4 separate regions of the Homo sapiens genome follow, and regions 2, 3 and 4 are each linked to region 1. The links are contacts of gene promoters, found by promoter capture Hi-C in human tissues and cell types (Jung and others, 2019). All regions are on one chromosome and are shown on one strand. The core of a region is centred on a gene start or on the middle of the fragment in contact, and the rest is flanking DNA. Distances in the headings are between cores, read along the strand shown.

Region 1 (3,665 bases), core at 378-2,877:
CCCAGAACAGACACTCTGGCCCAGTAACCGCAGGCCCAGCTCTTGGGACGCTGTTCTGGGTCTCCGGCCTGACCCTGCAGTCGCCTTTTGCCTCTTTAAGAACAGAGTCGTAAAACAGGAGCCCAAGCCTGGATCAGACAAACCTGGAGTCAGACCTCTTCAGCACTTACAAGCTGTGTGGCCTAGAGTCAATCACTTAACCTCTTGGTGCCTCAGTTTACTCATCTATAAAGTGGGAGTGATAATGGCCACCTCGTGGGGTTGCTAGGGACTGAATGAGACGATGCTCAAAGCAGGGGTACCATGCCCGGCACATTCCAGCACTCAACACCTAACCCCTGCTGTCACTGTCCTTGTCATTATTACCAGATTCACAAGCGGAGCCGGCTAAGGCCAAGGAGCTGTCCTCTGAGATCCATTTGCTCCCGCTGCTGGGAATGAAAACGTCGCTGACACCGGGCTCTGCAGAGCCAGTTTCTGATTAGATGGAGGTAACCCAAGTTCCAAAAACCACAGCTGAGGAGCAGCAGCTGACAAGCTGGTTGCATGGATGTGGAAAACTACCGCGTTCCAGCCGCCTCCAGACAGAAACAGGACGCATAGCCAGGTCCCACGGCAGCTCCAAAGAGGGCCTTGCACGCCAAGCGGGGCACCCCCCAGCCTGAGGGTTCACCAACCACGCGGACCACGCGGAAACCTAGCTGGGCTTCTCTCTCCCCTCGGGGCGCCAGTGCGGGAGGCGGTTTCTCCCTTGGAAGTGGAAGTCAGATCTGCTTCCAGGTTCCCGGTCTAGGGCCGGTCTAGGGCAGCTAAGCCTGCCTGCTCCTTCCTTTCCATCCTCCCTGGTCAGGGGAGCCCAACAGCAACGCGAGGGCACCCGACCCTCTGCCTGCACCTGGAGGGCGCCCGGGTCCCCCCAAGCCACGGCCAGGACGTCGCGTGGTGGGGCAGGGAAAGGGGCGCCGCCGCTGCTGGAAACTAGCCCTGTGCGCTCCGCCCGCGCTCCCCTCCCGGAGATGTCTCGAGCGCCTCTGGCGCGAACAAAGCCCGGCCGCCCCCGAGAAACTTCCGTGCATGAAGGTTTCCTCCTTGACTCGGCAGCAGCGGCCGCCGCAGGTGGGTGACTCCGCAACTCTGGAGCTCCGCGGAGGCGCGTTCGTCCCCAGCTGGATCTGTGGGGCCTGCGCCTGCGCGCGCTCCGGGCCACCTGCCCAGGTCACCTGCCCCGGCCACTCCGACAGTCCCTGCCAGGGCCGCAGCCCCTGCTCACCCGCTTCCCCCCGGCACCCGCTGCAGCGTGGGGCCCCTTCGCCTCGGTCCTCCTGCGGGCGACTCGGGAGCTCCTACCTGCGCAGCCGGCGGCGGGAAGCGGCGAATTTGGCCTCCGATTCCGCTCGGTCCTGCCCTCCCCCGCGGAGAGGCTCGGGGCGCTCGGCCGGTGCCCAGGCCTCCCGCCCCCGCGCGCATCCCCCCGGCGCTCCAGCCCCTGCCCACGATGGCGGCACCTGCCGCGCTCCTACGCCAGCAGGTCGGGCCCTGTGCACCCGCGCCAGCTCCCCGCTCCCCGCGCACTCACCGTCCCCGTCTCGAGGGCCCGGCCGCCGCGCCGCGCAGCGCTCCACGCTCTGGCCTCCCCGGCAGCCACGCGCCGCTTCATTCATCCGCTGGGGCCGCCCCCGCCGCAGAGGGAGGGGCGGGGTTTCCTGCGCGGGGCCCGCCTCACCCCCCACGGCCAATGGCAGCGGCGACCGCCCCCTCCTCCCCCCCAGGGCACAGAGGCGGGAACGCGCGGCGGGGGACCAGGGCGTCTCTCTCCGGAGCGCTGCCGCCTCCTGGACTCCCCGCTCCAGCTCCAAGGACCGGCATCGCTGCCGCAGCCGGGAGGCCGAGAACGCGCGGTGGCGACGCCGCCCCAGGCCACGCGGCGAGGCGGTTCCGAACGGACTCGGGATTCGCTCCTGGGCGCTGTGGGGCCGAGTGGAGCCAAGCGGCCGTTTTTCAGCTCCGCCCTTCCGAAAGGCTGCCGCAGGGTCGGGGCCACGTGGGGCCCGCGGCAGAGGGGCTGGGGGAACGCCACGGGCGGCCCTGGTGAAGGTGCCCGCCGGTCTCGGCCTGACCCCCAGGCCCTGTTCTGGCACGCGCCCCACCTGCGCGCACAGTGAGACCGGCGCCCTAGCCTGGGAATCCGGGGAATCTCCAGCCCGTTGCCTTTTCCATAACCCCGTCTTCTTTTTCACACTAGCTCTGAGGGTGGAAGGCAGGGAGGTGCCAGCCACGTTCCCTTCCACAGAGGGAACTCCCTGTTGGAATTCCTACCCCGGCTTCCTGCCGTCTGTCCTGGAACACATTGCTCCAGGCCTCCGAGCCTCAGTTTCCTCGTTTGCAAAATGGGGGCGATAACAGAGCGTCCTCAAAGGGGATAAGACGGAAGAAGTTGGCTCATATCAGGGCTCATAATTGTTGCCAAGTATTAACAGGTAACCACAATCACACTCCACAAAGCTTCCCTTTTAGTGTCAGTGAAATTAATTTAAAAGAAGTTTCCGAAAGTCAAGTGTGTGTGTGTGAATCCTGAGATAAGTCAGGTAAGGGGGGAAATGACCACCTCACGGCCCCAGGCTGGTGAGGAAGTCCTAGCCACGGAGGCGGTGCTGCAGGACCTGGCCTGGTGGCATAGCGTGGCGGGCGGGTTCACCGTGGAGAGACGAAGGAGGTGCTGCGGCTTGTGAGAAAAGGCCCACAACCCCATGCAGTTATTTATGAAATGGTTTTCCTTCCTCCAGGGCTTGGGGCTCCTGCCCACTCGTATCAGGTCCCGGGACCCCCCCGGTGGTGTCCTCAGGGCTCCCGCCGTCCCAGGCCGCCCTCCACTTCTGGAAGCAGACACGAGGCCACGAGACCCACTGCTTTTGGGTATCTGCTTTCATTCCTGACACTGCCCTTTAAGAGAAAAAAGTACCCACATTGTTCCCAGATGGAGAGGGTCCCTCCCAGAGGGTGAGGCACTGCCACAGGGGCTCACGGCCCTGCCAGGAGTGGAAGGTGCACACCCAGAAGTATTTCTCCTGTGAAGGAAGGGGGCTGAGCTTCGCTGCAGACCTGGCCTCAGGTGTGGATGAGCTTCGCTGCAGACCTGGCCTCAGGTGCGGAGTCTGCGGGAGCAGCATTTCCAGGCAGACCTGACAGAAGGTGCCTTTGAGAGGTGGTGAGCTCCGTGTTACAGGAGGCTTGTGAGCACAGGTAGCCCATCTTCTGGTGATGATGCTGGAGAAGCAATTCAAATGTCAGAAGCAGGACTGGACTCTGTTTCCAAAACTCACGTCTGGATTCTACCCCCTGAAAACATTATTTACACAATGTTTTTCCTTTAAACAATTCACACATTTGATTAAAAGGGTAAGTTTATTTTTTAAAAAGTCAGTGTCAATTACCACAAAGAGGTCACCATAAAAATAGATAAAAAGAAACAAAATGGCATTAAATTCTAGCCAAATATTGCTGCCTGTGGAGGGCTCCCGGCCTGAGACCCGCCTCAGACCCCACCAGGCATTCTTTGGGATTCCTGCATAGGCACCATTGGAAAGGTAAATCCAGAGCAAACATTTCAGGTACATTCGTGCAAAATGCAGGCCCTCAGTCCTGTCCTCAAAGGCAAATGCTGGTGC
Region 2 (3,665 bases), core at 762-3,261, 350 kb before region 1:
GGCATCCTCCTGGGGTGGTGGCTTTCCTTTCCACTTGGGCCTGTTCACATCTTTCGTGTAAGTTTTTTTCTCCCAGAGGAATGAGAGGAGAGGGTGGGCGAGCTGTCAGTATGAAATTCCATCAAGTGTGCATGGCAGCAAAGCTGCCCCCACCCCACAGGTCAGCCAGCCAGGGTGCCCAGAAATTGGGCACAGAGACCCTTGTGTGGTCCTGTGGGCCTCTGCAGCCCGGCACGGGAGCCCCCACTGTGGAGGTGTTGGATATTGGGTGGATCAGGTACTGAGTGCTCAGCAGCCTGGCTCAGGAGCCCCTACCGTGGAGGTGTTGGAGATGAGGTGGGTGAGGGACTGATCGCTCTATAGCCCAGCTCAGGAACCGCCGTTGTGGAGTTGTTGGAGGTTGGGTGGGCTCAGGTACTAAGTGCCCACAAGCCGGCGCACTCCCCGCTGGGACCCTTAACCTAATCACGCGTTTTACCACGTTCACAGGCTGTGAAGAGCTGTGGAGATTGGGTGGGTCAGGTCCTAAGCACTCCGCAGTGCAAGCCACGAAGCCAGGCTCTCGTTCCCGTCTTGCAGATGGGGTGGTGGCGGGTGAAGGAGACCCAGGGCCTCCTGCTGCTTTCGGAGGAGCCGGAACTCAGGGCCCAAGGCAGCTGCAGGCAAGTCTCCCGGCTGGCCCCATAGAGGCAGCCCCTGCCTGGGGTGGAAAGTATGCAGGGAGGCGGCTCTCTGGCACACACCGACGCTCTCCTGGTCCAGGCATTTGCATTCTTGAACAGAAGGTCATGCACCCTCCACCTCAGGATGCTCAGACCAAGGAGCACGGAGGGTGGCCTTGCTGGGCTCTCCTGAAAGTCACAAGCACCTTGGAGGCCACCCCAGGAACGTTAGGAGAAGGCAATGCCAGCCGGGCCACCCCAGGAACGTTAGGAGAAGGCAATGCCAGCCGGGCCACCCCGGGAACGTTAGGAGAAGGCAATGCCAGCCGGGCCACCCCGGGAACGTTAGGAGAAGGCAATGCCAGCCGGGCCACCCCGGGAACGTTAGGAGAAGGCAATGCCAGCCGGGCCACCCCGGGAACATTAGGAGAAGGCAATGCCAGCCGGGCCACCCCGGGAACGTTAGGAGAAGGCAATGCCAGCCGGGCCACCCCGGGAACGTTAGGAGAAGGCAATGCCAGCCGGGCCACCCCGGGAACGTTAGGAGAAGGCAATGCCAGCCGGGCCACCCCGGGAACGTTAGGAGAAGGCAATGCCAGCCGGGCCACCCCGGGAACGTTAGGAGAAGGCAATGCCAGCCGGGCCACCCCGGGAACGTTAGGAGAAGGCAATGCCAGCCGGGCCACCCCAGAAGGGGCGTGTGTCAGTGGCTGGGAGGATGGCCTCAGTCCTCCATGTCCACGCCAGGAAACAGGTGTGGGGTCTGGGCTGATGCAGAGAAGACGAGCAGGGAAAGGGGTCCCGATCCAGACCCCAAGAAAGGGTTTTTGGGTCTCATGCAAGAAAGAATTTGCGGCGAGTCCATAAAGTGAAAGTAAATTAGGAAAGTAAAAGAACAAAAGAACGGGGACTCCATAGGCAGAGCCACCGCATGGGCTGCTGACTAAGGTCACTTACACGTATTTCTTGATTATATGCTAAGCAAGGGGTGGATTATTGATGAGTTCTCTGGGAAAGGGGTGGGCAATTCCCAGAACTGAGGGTTCCTCCCCTTTTTGGACCATATAGCGTAACTTCCTGATGTTGCCGTGGCATCTGTAAACTGCCATGGCACTAGCAGGAGCGTCTTTTAGCCGCTAACCTATTATAATTAGTGTGTAATGAGCAGGGCGGGTGAGCAGAGGCCACTCTTCTCACCGTCTTGGTTTTGGTCGTTTTGGCCGGCATCTCTACCACATCCTGTTTACCAGCAGGGTCTTTATGACCTGCATCTTGTGATACCAGTCCTGCCGACCTCCAATCTCATCCTGTGACTCCGAATGCCTCACCCCTGGGAGTGCAGCACAGCAGGTCTGAGCCTCATTTTACCCACTCCCTACTCAAGATGGACTCATTCTGCTTTGAGCCCCTCTGACCACAGTATTGGAGGAACAGGAATTGGGGTGCAGCTTAGCTGGGTGGTTTTCACAGGAGGTTGCTGTTGAGGTGCTGGCCGTGGCTCCGGTCATCTGAAGGACCCACTTCCAGTTGGGGTGTGGCTTAGCTGGACGTTTTTCCCAGGAGGTTGCTGTCGAGGGGCTGGCCATGGCTCATCTGAAGGATCCACTTCTAGGAGGGTTTCCGCGGCTGCAGGCAGGCGGCCTCTGTTCCTCGCCACGTGGACTCCCAAAGCGGGCAGCGCCTCACCTTGGAAGTCACACTGTCCCTTCCACCACTTCTTTGTTTTTCTTTTTTTTTTTTTGAGATGGAGTCTCGCTCTGTCACCCAGGCTGGAGTGCAGTGGTGCGATCTCGGCTCACTGCAACCTCCGCCTCCCAGGTTCAAGTGATTCTCCTGTCTCAGCCTCCCAAGTAGCGGGGATTACAGGCATGCGCCACCATGTCCAACTAATATTTTTGAATTTTTAGTAGAGACAAGGTTTCACCATGTTGGCCAAGCTGGTCTCCAACTCCTGACCTCCGGTGATCTTCCCACCTTGGCCTCCCAAAGTGCTGGGATTACAGGCATGAGCCACCGCACCCGGCCCCTTCCACCACATTTTATTCATGAGAAGCCAGTTGCTAAGTCTGGCTCACACTTAAGAAAACCTGCTTTTGAGGGAGGATTGTCCACAAAAATGGGGGACATTTTAAAACCACCACACTCAGATAGTTCACTGACAAGGATTTAAAGAAAACCACCAAGGCTGGGTACAGTGGCTCATGCCTGTAATCCCAGCACTTTGGGAGGCCCAGGTAGGAGGATAACTTGAGACCGGGAGTTGGAGACCAGCCTGGCCAACATGGTGAAACCCCGTCTCTACTAAAAAATACAAAAAGTAGCTAGGCGTGGTGGCGCACACCTGTAGTCCCAGCTACTCAGGAGGCTGAGGCAAGAGAATCACTTGAACCTGAGAGGTGGAGGTTGCAGTGAGATGAGATGGTGTCACTGCACTCCAGCCTGGGCAACAAAGGGAGACTCAGTTTCAAAAAAATAAAATAGAATAAAATAAAATAATATAAAATATAAAGAAAACCACCCAAAGATCCTTCCACACATGTAAAAATAATGATGGGGTCTAAATTCAACCTTCAGATGAGTCTCCGAGCTCTGGAGTTAGAAGCGAACATCCCAAAAGAGGGGCCACATACGAAGGAATGTCCATCATCGACCCTTCAAGACCAATCGCCGTCCTCTCTCGGGGGTCTTTGGTGACAATGACCTCTGTCCTCGGGGTGAGGTCTGTGCCCATCGCTCTATCCTCACTGTTCCTGTCCTGCAGGTACAAGTAGTTGGCTCGCACGCCTGGCTTTCATGACGCTGGATGGTCGTGTCCCCCGAGCTCCGTGTTCACCCGTGTCCTCAGGGTGGGGGCAGCCCGGGTGTGAGAATGTGATTGTGTTTTGCAGCTTTAGCAGGGGTCCCCGGGTCCCCCAGCTGTCTCTGCTGAGTCCCCCATCCCCATCCCCCCTGTGCCCACCCCTGCATGCTACGCTGGCTCTACCAATCCCCTGAGACTATCTT
Region 3 (3,665 bases), core at 311-2,810, 310 kb before region 1:
CGTGCGTGTGGCAGCCTTGACCCACAGGCCCCTCCAGAATCCTTGGCGCTACCCAATAAGGGCCTGCAAAGGAAGTTGAAGAGCTGTGGCAAGGGCTCCTTTTTAAACATCGAGCCTGGGAGGGACGTAGTGAAGGCTGCGGCAAGGGCTCCTTTTTAAACATCGAGCCTGGGAGGGACGTAGTGAAGGCTGCGGCAAGGGCTCCTTTTTAAACATCGAGCCTGGGAGGGACGTAGTGAAGGCGGAGCCACTCAAACCAGCCGCCAGTGAGGAGGCCCTGAATCCCTGGGGAGCTGGCCCTGCCCGGCAGGCCTGGATGAACGTGGGTGGGGGAAGAGGAAGAGAGCAAGGGGCAGGGCCCGCTGAGGGCAGCCCTCCCCTCTAATTGGCGCCTGACAGGGCTGTGATCTGGGCTGCCAGCTTTTCCCATGCAGCCAGCGCTCCCTTCATCTGGGTGCCAACATCCGATGGTGGCACTGCCCCTTTGGGCCTTCCTACAACTCTTCCCAGCACTTCTAGGGTCCTCAGCCCTCATACAGCTGGGAACTGGTGGGGCCAGAAGGTGCCATTACCTTGCCATGGTCAGGGTAGGTACCCTGGGGACTCAGTGCAGGCAGGAGACTGCTCTGGAACCCACAGGGCCTGAGTCTAGGCCCAGGGTCCAGCCACTTAAGGCCTCAGCCCAAGACCCAGAGCCAAGGGGTTCAGCAGTGTGGGGGCTGCTCTCAGGAGCTCCCTGGCAGAGGCCCTCCCCAGCTGACCAATGGCCCGCGGTCACCATCTCGCCCGGTTTCTGAGGCGTCACCTGCCCAGGGAGCCTCCTACAGGCAGCAGTGCTGGTGGCCAGGCGACCTGCCCAGGCCCTGCTTCTCCCCACCACCAAATGCTCCGAGAGCTGAAGCCAGCGGGGAGCTCGTCCTCAGCACACAGCTGGCACGTGGTGGCAGGACCCCCCCCAACCCCGTCCAGCTGCAGGCTCCAGCCCGTGCCCCCTACCTGGCCTCCTGACTGTCCTGGCGCCTGCTTGTCAGGGTCATGCATACACAGGGTGGTTCCACCTGGCGAGGGGTATGCCTCCTGACTGTCCAGGACAATGCCCCTGGCCTGGGGAACATAGCCCTGCCTGGAAGAGCCCCAGGAACACTGGCTGGGATAGGGCACTTGCCAGGTCCGGTCCTGGAATCTCATGGCAGGGAGGAAGGACAGGGCACTCACTTCCTTCCACCTCCCACAAGGAACACAGGGGGCCCCACAGCCAGAGGAGCCCGCCCAGCTCAGCCCTCCCCACCTAGCATCGTCCCACGTGGCAGTATCTCAGCTCCCTCCCCACGGCCCCATCTCCACCGCTCCCACCCCCCCTCCCCTCACCCCCGCCACACCTGGACCACTGGGTGTCCCCGGCCATGTCCCTGCGGGCCTCGTCTGGGGGTGGCTGCATCGGGCTTGGGGTGCTCAGACGGCGTGGGCACAGCTGTGTCCCGGGGCTGCCTCCCAGCCCAGGCTGACCCACCCGGGCAGCACCGCCCAAGTCCACGTGTCAGTCCCAGCGCGCTTCCGTCTGGTTCTCTCAGGACTTGTCGCCCCCAGACGGCCACCAGGGCGGGCAGGCGGGGCAGGGCGGGGCATACCACTCGGGTGCCCGCCCCACCCTGCTGACGTCGGTCCCTGCTGCCCCATAGGAGCGGGGCCAACGGTCGCCCTGGCTGGGTCGCCCTGACTGTCCGACGCGCCCTGGCTCAGCCCCAGCAGAGGTTAGTGTGGGGGCAGAGGGGGATTCCCAGCAGCAGGCCGGTCAGACTGGGGCTTCAGAGAAGGGCCCTGGTGGTAAGCCTGGTCCAAGAGGTGCCAGCCCATCCCTTGGACACGACACGGAGCCATGGGGCCGTCTGTCCTCTGTCTATAAAATGGGGAATGATGGCAGTCCCTGCCTTACCGATCAAATAAAATCAGGGATAAAGTCTTAACCAAGTGCAAAGAGAGTAAAAGTACAGGGTCACTGATTTTTAAAATGGATCTTTCGGGGCAGGGATGGGTCCACTCCTGAGCCCTTGGACCAAGCCTGGGAGAGCTGGACAAATCCAGCGCTGGCCCATGTCTTCTCAGCAGATGCCTGTGAAGGTTGTCATTGGCCCCTGGGTTCCTGGACAAAAGGTGTCCTGAGGACCCATCACAGGCCAGGTTCTGGGCTCGGGGGCAGGGGTGACGGGGTGGGGCCCCCACTCTGTGTGCTCCTGCTGCCATGCCAAGGATGAAGCCAGCAGGGGAAGGCCTCAACCATGCAGCCTTTCCCCAGGAGGCGGCAGGGCCTGCTCCTCAGGCGTTGCCCCCACCTCCACTAGGGCCCACCTCAGTCCATCCTCCACGCAGCAGCCACCACCCAGGGGCCGAGGGAGACACGTCTAAGGCAGGGCCTTGCACTTAGAACAGACCCACATTTACCCCCTCCCTCCCCCTAGCCCTCAGGTCTCCAACAGCCCAACCCACTGCACTGCAGGGCCTGCTCCCAGGGCCCTCTGAACAGAAAGACACGGGCACCCTGAAAAGCAAGGTCATACTTTCATCCATCCTGACGTAGGGTAGGTGAAAAGATGGTGGCAGAGAGAGGTTTATTGCCCCAAACAGCCCTAGCCCATAGCCAGGAAGTTTGGAAACTGTTGCTAAACGTATCGCTGTCAACAGCACCCTCTTTGAGGTGATTCGCTTCCATTCACTCTGTGATGGTGATTTCCTACCGAGATCTGTGATCATGCTGCAGCAGACATTTGCCATCTGGTTACCCAAAGTCCCCTTCCTCCTGGAGCTGATGTTCTGGGGCAGGTAGACAAAAATCAAAGTAGTGAAAGGGGTAGGGAAGGGGTGTTACTTCAAATAGGTTGGGCTGAGGAGGCACCCCTGGACACCTGAGTGAAGGCTGGATGAGCTGAAGAAACGGGCCATGCAGGGATGGCTGGGTGGGTGAAGGGGCCATCTCACAGGGACATTATAAAGCTGGGTGCTGGTAGTGGCCAGATGGAGGCTCTCCACGCTTCTGGTGGATTCTGAGAGCTGCCCCGCACCCAAGCATCTTTGAGGCCTAAGGTGAAAAATTATGTAGGGACAATAGACAGTCAACACCTGGGTTTTCAAGGACACAGGGTGACCTTGCGGACAGGGCAGTCACAGCCAGCACCCACTGGCCTCTGCTTCTGGAAGGCTGCGTGCCTCCCTCTTGTTGGGCCTGGCCCACCTAACTTCTTGTTTATTTCAAGTGCTGCTATAGGGAGACGATGCTAGAGATTTTCCTAAAGCAAATCCACACCTCACTACGTATGGCGCCCGTTGCTCAGCCTCTGCATCCACACCCCCCACAGACGCCCCAGGAGACCCCGCACAGCTTCTTGTAAACCAAGACAAGCCAGCCCTGGGCCTGGGGCTCCTCCCTGCACCCCACTTAGCCCTGCAACCTTCCAGCCCAACTACAATTCTCAAGATGAGGAGTCCATGAAAAGGAGACTGACAGATGACACTTTCCTCTGCCATGACTGACAGGCAGCAGCAAGAGGGAAGACCGCGGTACTGGACATCACGTGCGGGAACTGCCTCAAAGGTGGGGGCACCTTTCGGGCTGAGCTAACCCAGTCAACAGCAGACTGGAAAAAGACAAAGAACTGTGTGAGATGGTGCTC
Region 4 (3,665 bases), core at 343-2,842, 260 kb before region 1:
AGCAGCTACCATGTCTCTGCCTCTCCCCTAAACACCTCTGCACTTTTGTAGGCTCAACAAGTACTGGGGAGCCTGCCACCACTGTATGCCTTTGAGGCCCCTGCCCTGCCTCCCTGGCTGGCCACGGAGCTCGCCCTCCCTGGTAGGGGGTGAGTTTGGAAGTGAGAGGCTGGTGTGGGTCTGTCCCATGAGCTGACTCACACTTGCCTCACCACACATACCATCAGAAGACCCACGTGGTGGAGCTACCGCTGCTGCTCCCCACAGTGCACCTAGGCACCCTCCTGTCCTTCCCATGGCACTCGGTTGACCTGGGGGTTCCTGTCCAACAGGTGAGGCCTGGTGTGCACAGACACTCTGCCATTGCTAGAAGGAGGCTGTGCCCCCTGCTAAGATATCAGTAGGTCCTTCACAGCCTCACCTTGTTCCTCCCATTTGTTTTTAAAAATTGTTTCTTATATATACAGTTTATTTAGCTTACGTAAACATTTGGTGCACATAACTTCTCTCAAAGATCATGATGTTTCTTTTGTGGTTTTATAAATTCTTATTCCATTTTTTTCTCTTTATTTCCACTGTTCACCTCCCATTATTGTCGAGGCATGAAGTCAGTTGGAAATGTTTTTCTGAGATGTACCTGACTGACTAGAATTTTGAGATGGAATTCTCAAAATTTTGAGATGGTATTTGATAGGTGCAATTTCTAGTATTTTGTCTCCCTAAATGGCTCATTAAGTGACTTAAACACTGAGGATCTGAACAGATTTTGACTGCAAAGCAGATTCTACAGTTCGTTTCATCTAACCGTTGGAATTAAAATGGAAAACGTTGCCAGTTTGTAAACCCAAATCCAGATGCTGTGTTAAGCATGGTGCCCAGGTGGAAGCACTGCCTCTTGTTCCCACGTGCTGCCACAGAGATGGCCCTGGTGGGGTGAAATGGACGGAGAACACCGTTCACAAGGATAACTCATGGTGTGGGCTCCAGAAGCACATTTCACTGAAATCCTAAGAGGACCCAGTCTCAGTTTTCATTAATAAAAAATACATGGGGGGATTCTAGAACCTAAGAGTGTTTTGCAGGAATTTAAAGCCGGGAGAGGAGGGTGGCTTGTTTCACTGGTCGCGTGAGCTCTTTTTTTATCTGTCTCCTCCAGAGTTGTCAGCGGCAATAAAACGAGACTGGGAGTCATCAGACTCTACGTGTCCACCAATCTCTTCCTCCCAATTAGAAAAATCAGAATTTGTTCTGAGAAAGAATATAGCTTGATAGTTGTTTTTTTACGTTATCCATATAACTGGAAGTTTCTTGGCTGTCAGTAATGACATTCTTTTGTTATTTTTAAGTGTTTTACTTTTTATAAACTTAAAAAGCAGCCTGCCATTGAGAAAATTACATCAGGGAAAGGTTTCACACCTCCGTAACCGTGACCCTGCACGGTGAAGTCCCACATCAGCACCGTCCCGTGGTGCCCCTGTCCATCCCTCAGGTGCCCCTTTGTGCTTATGCTTCAGCCACCTTGGGCAGGTGGGGTGCAGGGATGGAAGTTTCCAGCAGGATCGGTCCCCCTGAATTCACCACCTCTTCAGTGACCTTCATAGGACCTTTCGGAGCTGTGGATCTACTCATAGTCTAAAGATGAATACTCGGGAAAGCCTCCTCGGCATTCTCGGTGTCACAGAGTGCAGAGGTCAGCTCTGAAGACGCCTGCTACAATTCCTCCAATGTGGTACACAAGTTTCAGGTAGATTTGTATAAAGTTGTAAAATAATACTAGGTTTTTTTTTTTTTTTTTCTGTTAACACATCAACATACACATAGTTATATTCTTAGCTTCTAAAAGTTAGAGAAGTAACTTAGAATATTGACAAGAATTTTTGCTACTTATTTAAATGAAGGTTGCGGCAACTTTCATTTGCCGCAAACCTGGAAGAGTTCGGCAAGAAGAGCTTAAGGTAACTGGCTTTATCCTCAACTGACCTGCTTGGTGCTGTCAGCTAGGGGCTTTATACTGAGTATGGCCCTTTAGGACTGGAGGGATTACAGGGGAGGGTTGTGGACTAATTTTAACATGCCCCTAACATGTTGGTTTAAGTAGTAAACAACTTAGATAAAGGTTAAATTACTCGTGTGGGAGATCTTGGGAAGAGCAGCAGCTCTGCTCCCAAATGGGCTTGGCAGCCAGGCACACACCATGTGCAGCTGGGCACAACTGAAATTGCAGTTGAGTGGAACGTCCATCTGTCCACGTGGCCCTCATCACACGAGTTTCTTAGGGAGAATTACACACCTCTCCATTAAGTTGGAAGGCACTCAAGTAGCGGGTATTAGTAAGAAAACTGACCAAGGAAAGCTTTGAGTATTCCAAAACACGGCAGTCTAGCTGTGGACCCTGCAAGGGCGTCCTGGCTGTAGTGATGGTCTCCTCTGAGGAGCGTCTGCGATGTAGTCTGCCTGCTGTATTTGGGAAGTAACTGTTTCCCCGCAACATGAAAGCAAACTAGTAACTACTTATAAAAGGCGAATTCATGTGAACACATTCTAGCATGTTGAGAGGAGCAAAAGCAGAACATTTTCTCTTGCCGCTGCCACCTTGATTGTTCCCACTAGGGGCAATCTTGGAGTGAAGAAACAGGTAAAGCAGGAAACTGCATTGTTGTACACACGCCTCACTGAGGGCTGCAAATAGGCCTGACGTCACAGTGAACAGAATTTACTTCCACAGTTCCTTCACTGACTGTTGAGTCTGTTTTCAGGTGCATAGCATAGAAACAGCCCTTAGAGCTGTAGCGGATGGTGATAGGCAGGATTCAGGACACCGTGGGAGACCAGTGGAGGTCTGAGTGCCCCAGCTTCCCTAAACCAGCCAGCAGTACCGCGACAGGGCAGGCCACTTCATTGTCAACACCTACGTGAGGGCGTGTGGTGTTTATTTTAGTGATTTTTATAACCAGTTCCTTTCCCTGTGGGGAGCCATCCAGCACATAAGGTTGCTACATGGGGGCCTCTGGACAGTCCAGAACTGAGCAGACTTGGTCTCTTGCCCCATATTTTAATCCCTGTCCTGCTAAAACTTCCACTGGGGCAATTGGATGGGTTCTGCAGAGAGGAGCGGAGTAGCACCATCCTCCAGTGGGGGCCTGATTTTCTCCTCCCCGTCTCTGCTCAGGCCCTGGTGCCACCCAGTGGCCAGAGGCGCTGTAGCACCCAAGCCAGCCAGCCTTCTGCTTTGGGGGAAATTGGCCAATTAGAGTGTGCTGCTGATCCCTGTGCACGACGACGACCTGCTTCATTCTGCAGTTGGCTGAAACCCAGACCCGGCAGCAACAGTTTCATCTGGGCCAGTGGCCTGGGCAGGCCCCCAGAATGTGGGAGCTAAAGGAGACAGCACTGCGACCAAGGGGCAGAGAGGTGTGGGGAGGGGCAGGGGACCCCTGGCTCTCAGGCATCAGTGCTGTGCGGTGTGACCAGGTCACCACCACTGCTGCCCCCAGGGGGCCCAGCAGCGTGTAGGGGAGGCTCGTACCCTGACAGAGCCCTGTGTTTCTGCAGTGGGGTTTTTTCCTGGGTTGCCTGGAGTTGCTGCTTGCCCTTCTCTGAAGTTATACACAACGTAATAGTTCAAAGCAAATTTGGATGAACTTGCAAATTGAATTTTAGCTCCA

The links. Contacts are between HindIII fragments. The study calls those that stand out against the background at their distance.
Region 2: a fragment that was not itself captured here is called in contact with the fragment with the promoter of SLCO4A1 in region 1 in 1 of the 25 tissues and cell types used here (lymphoblastoid cells).
Region 3: a contact is called between the fragment with the promoter of SLC17A9 here and the fragment with the promoter of SLCO4A1 in region 1, in 3 of the 25 tissues and cell types used here (dorsolateral prefrontal cortex, lymphoblastoid cells and spleen).
Region 4: a contact is called between a fragment that was not itself captured here and the fragment with the promoter of SLCO4A1 in region 1, in 2 of the 25 tissues and cell types used here (lymphoblastoid cells and spleen).

Annotation. Positions count from the first base shown.
Region 1 is chr20:62,640,465-62,644,129 of GRCh38, reverse strand. SLCO4A1 (solute carrier organic anion transporter family member 4A1) reads right to left here and starts at 1,627. Exons shown (of 12, transcript NM_016354.4): 1 at 1,577-1,627. It overlaps LOC124904949 (a long non-coding RNA gene), which reads left to right and starts at 1,793. Exons shown (of 2, transcript XR_007067711.1): 1 at 1,793-2,477; 2 at 2,784-3,665. RefSeq lists a silencer at 1,190-2,139. The HindIII fragment of the contact is 11,606 bases long and covers 1-3,665 here.
Region 2 is chr20:62,987,475-62,991,139 of GRCh38, reverse strand. No RefSeq gene overlaps it. Among named protein-coding and RNA genes, the nearest start is that of BHLHE23, 18 kb to the left of the region's middle. The HindIII fragment of the contact is 8,596 bases long and covers 1-3,665 here.
Region 3 is chr20:62,950,604-62,954,268 of GRCh38, reverse strand. SLC17A9 (solute carrier family 17 member 9) reads right to left here and starts at 1,560. Exons shown (of 13, transcript NM_022082.4): 1 at 1,380-1,560. The coding sequence starts at 1,438. RefSeq lists silencers at 1,340-1,439, 1,450-1,769 and an enhancer at 1,321-2,150. The HindIII fragment of the contact is 20,012 bases long and covers 1-3,665 here.
Region 4 is chr20:62,899,948-62,903,612 of GRCh38, reverse strand. All of the region lies in intron 6 of DIDO1 (death inducer-obliterator 1), which reads left to right. Among named protein-coding and RNA genes, the nearest start is that of SNORA117, 19 kb to the right of the region's middle. RefSeq lists enhancers at 3,243-3,492, 2,822-3,665. The HindIII fragment of the contact is 5,054 bases long and covers 1-3,665 here.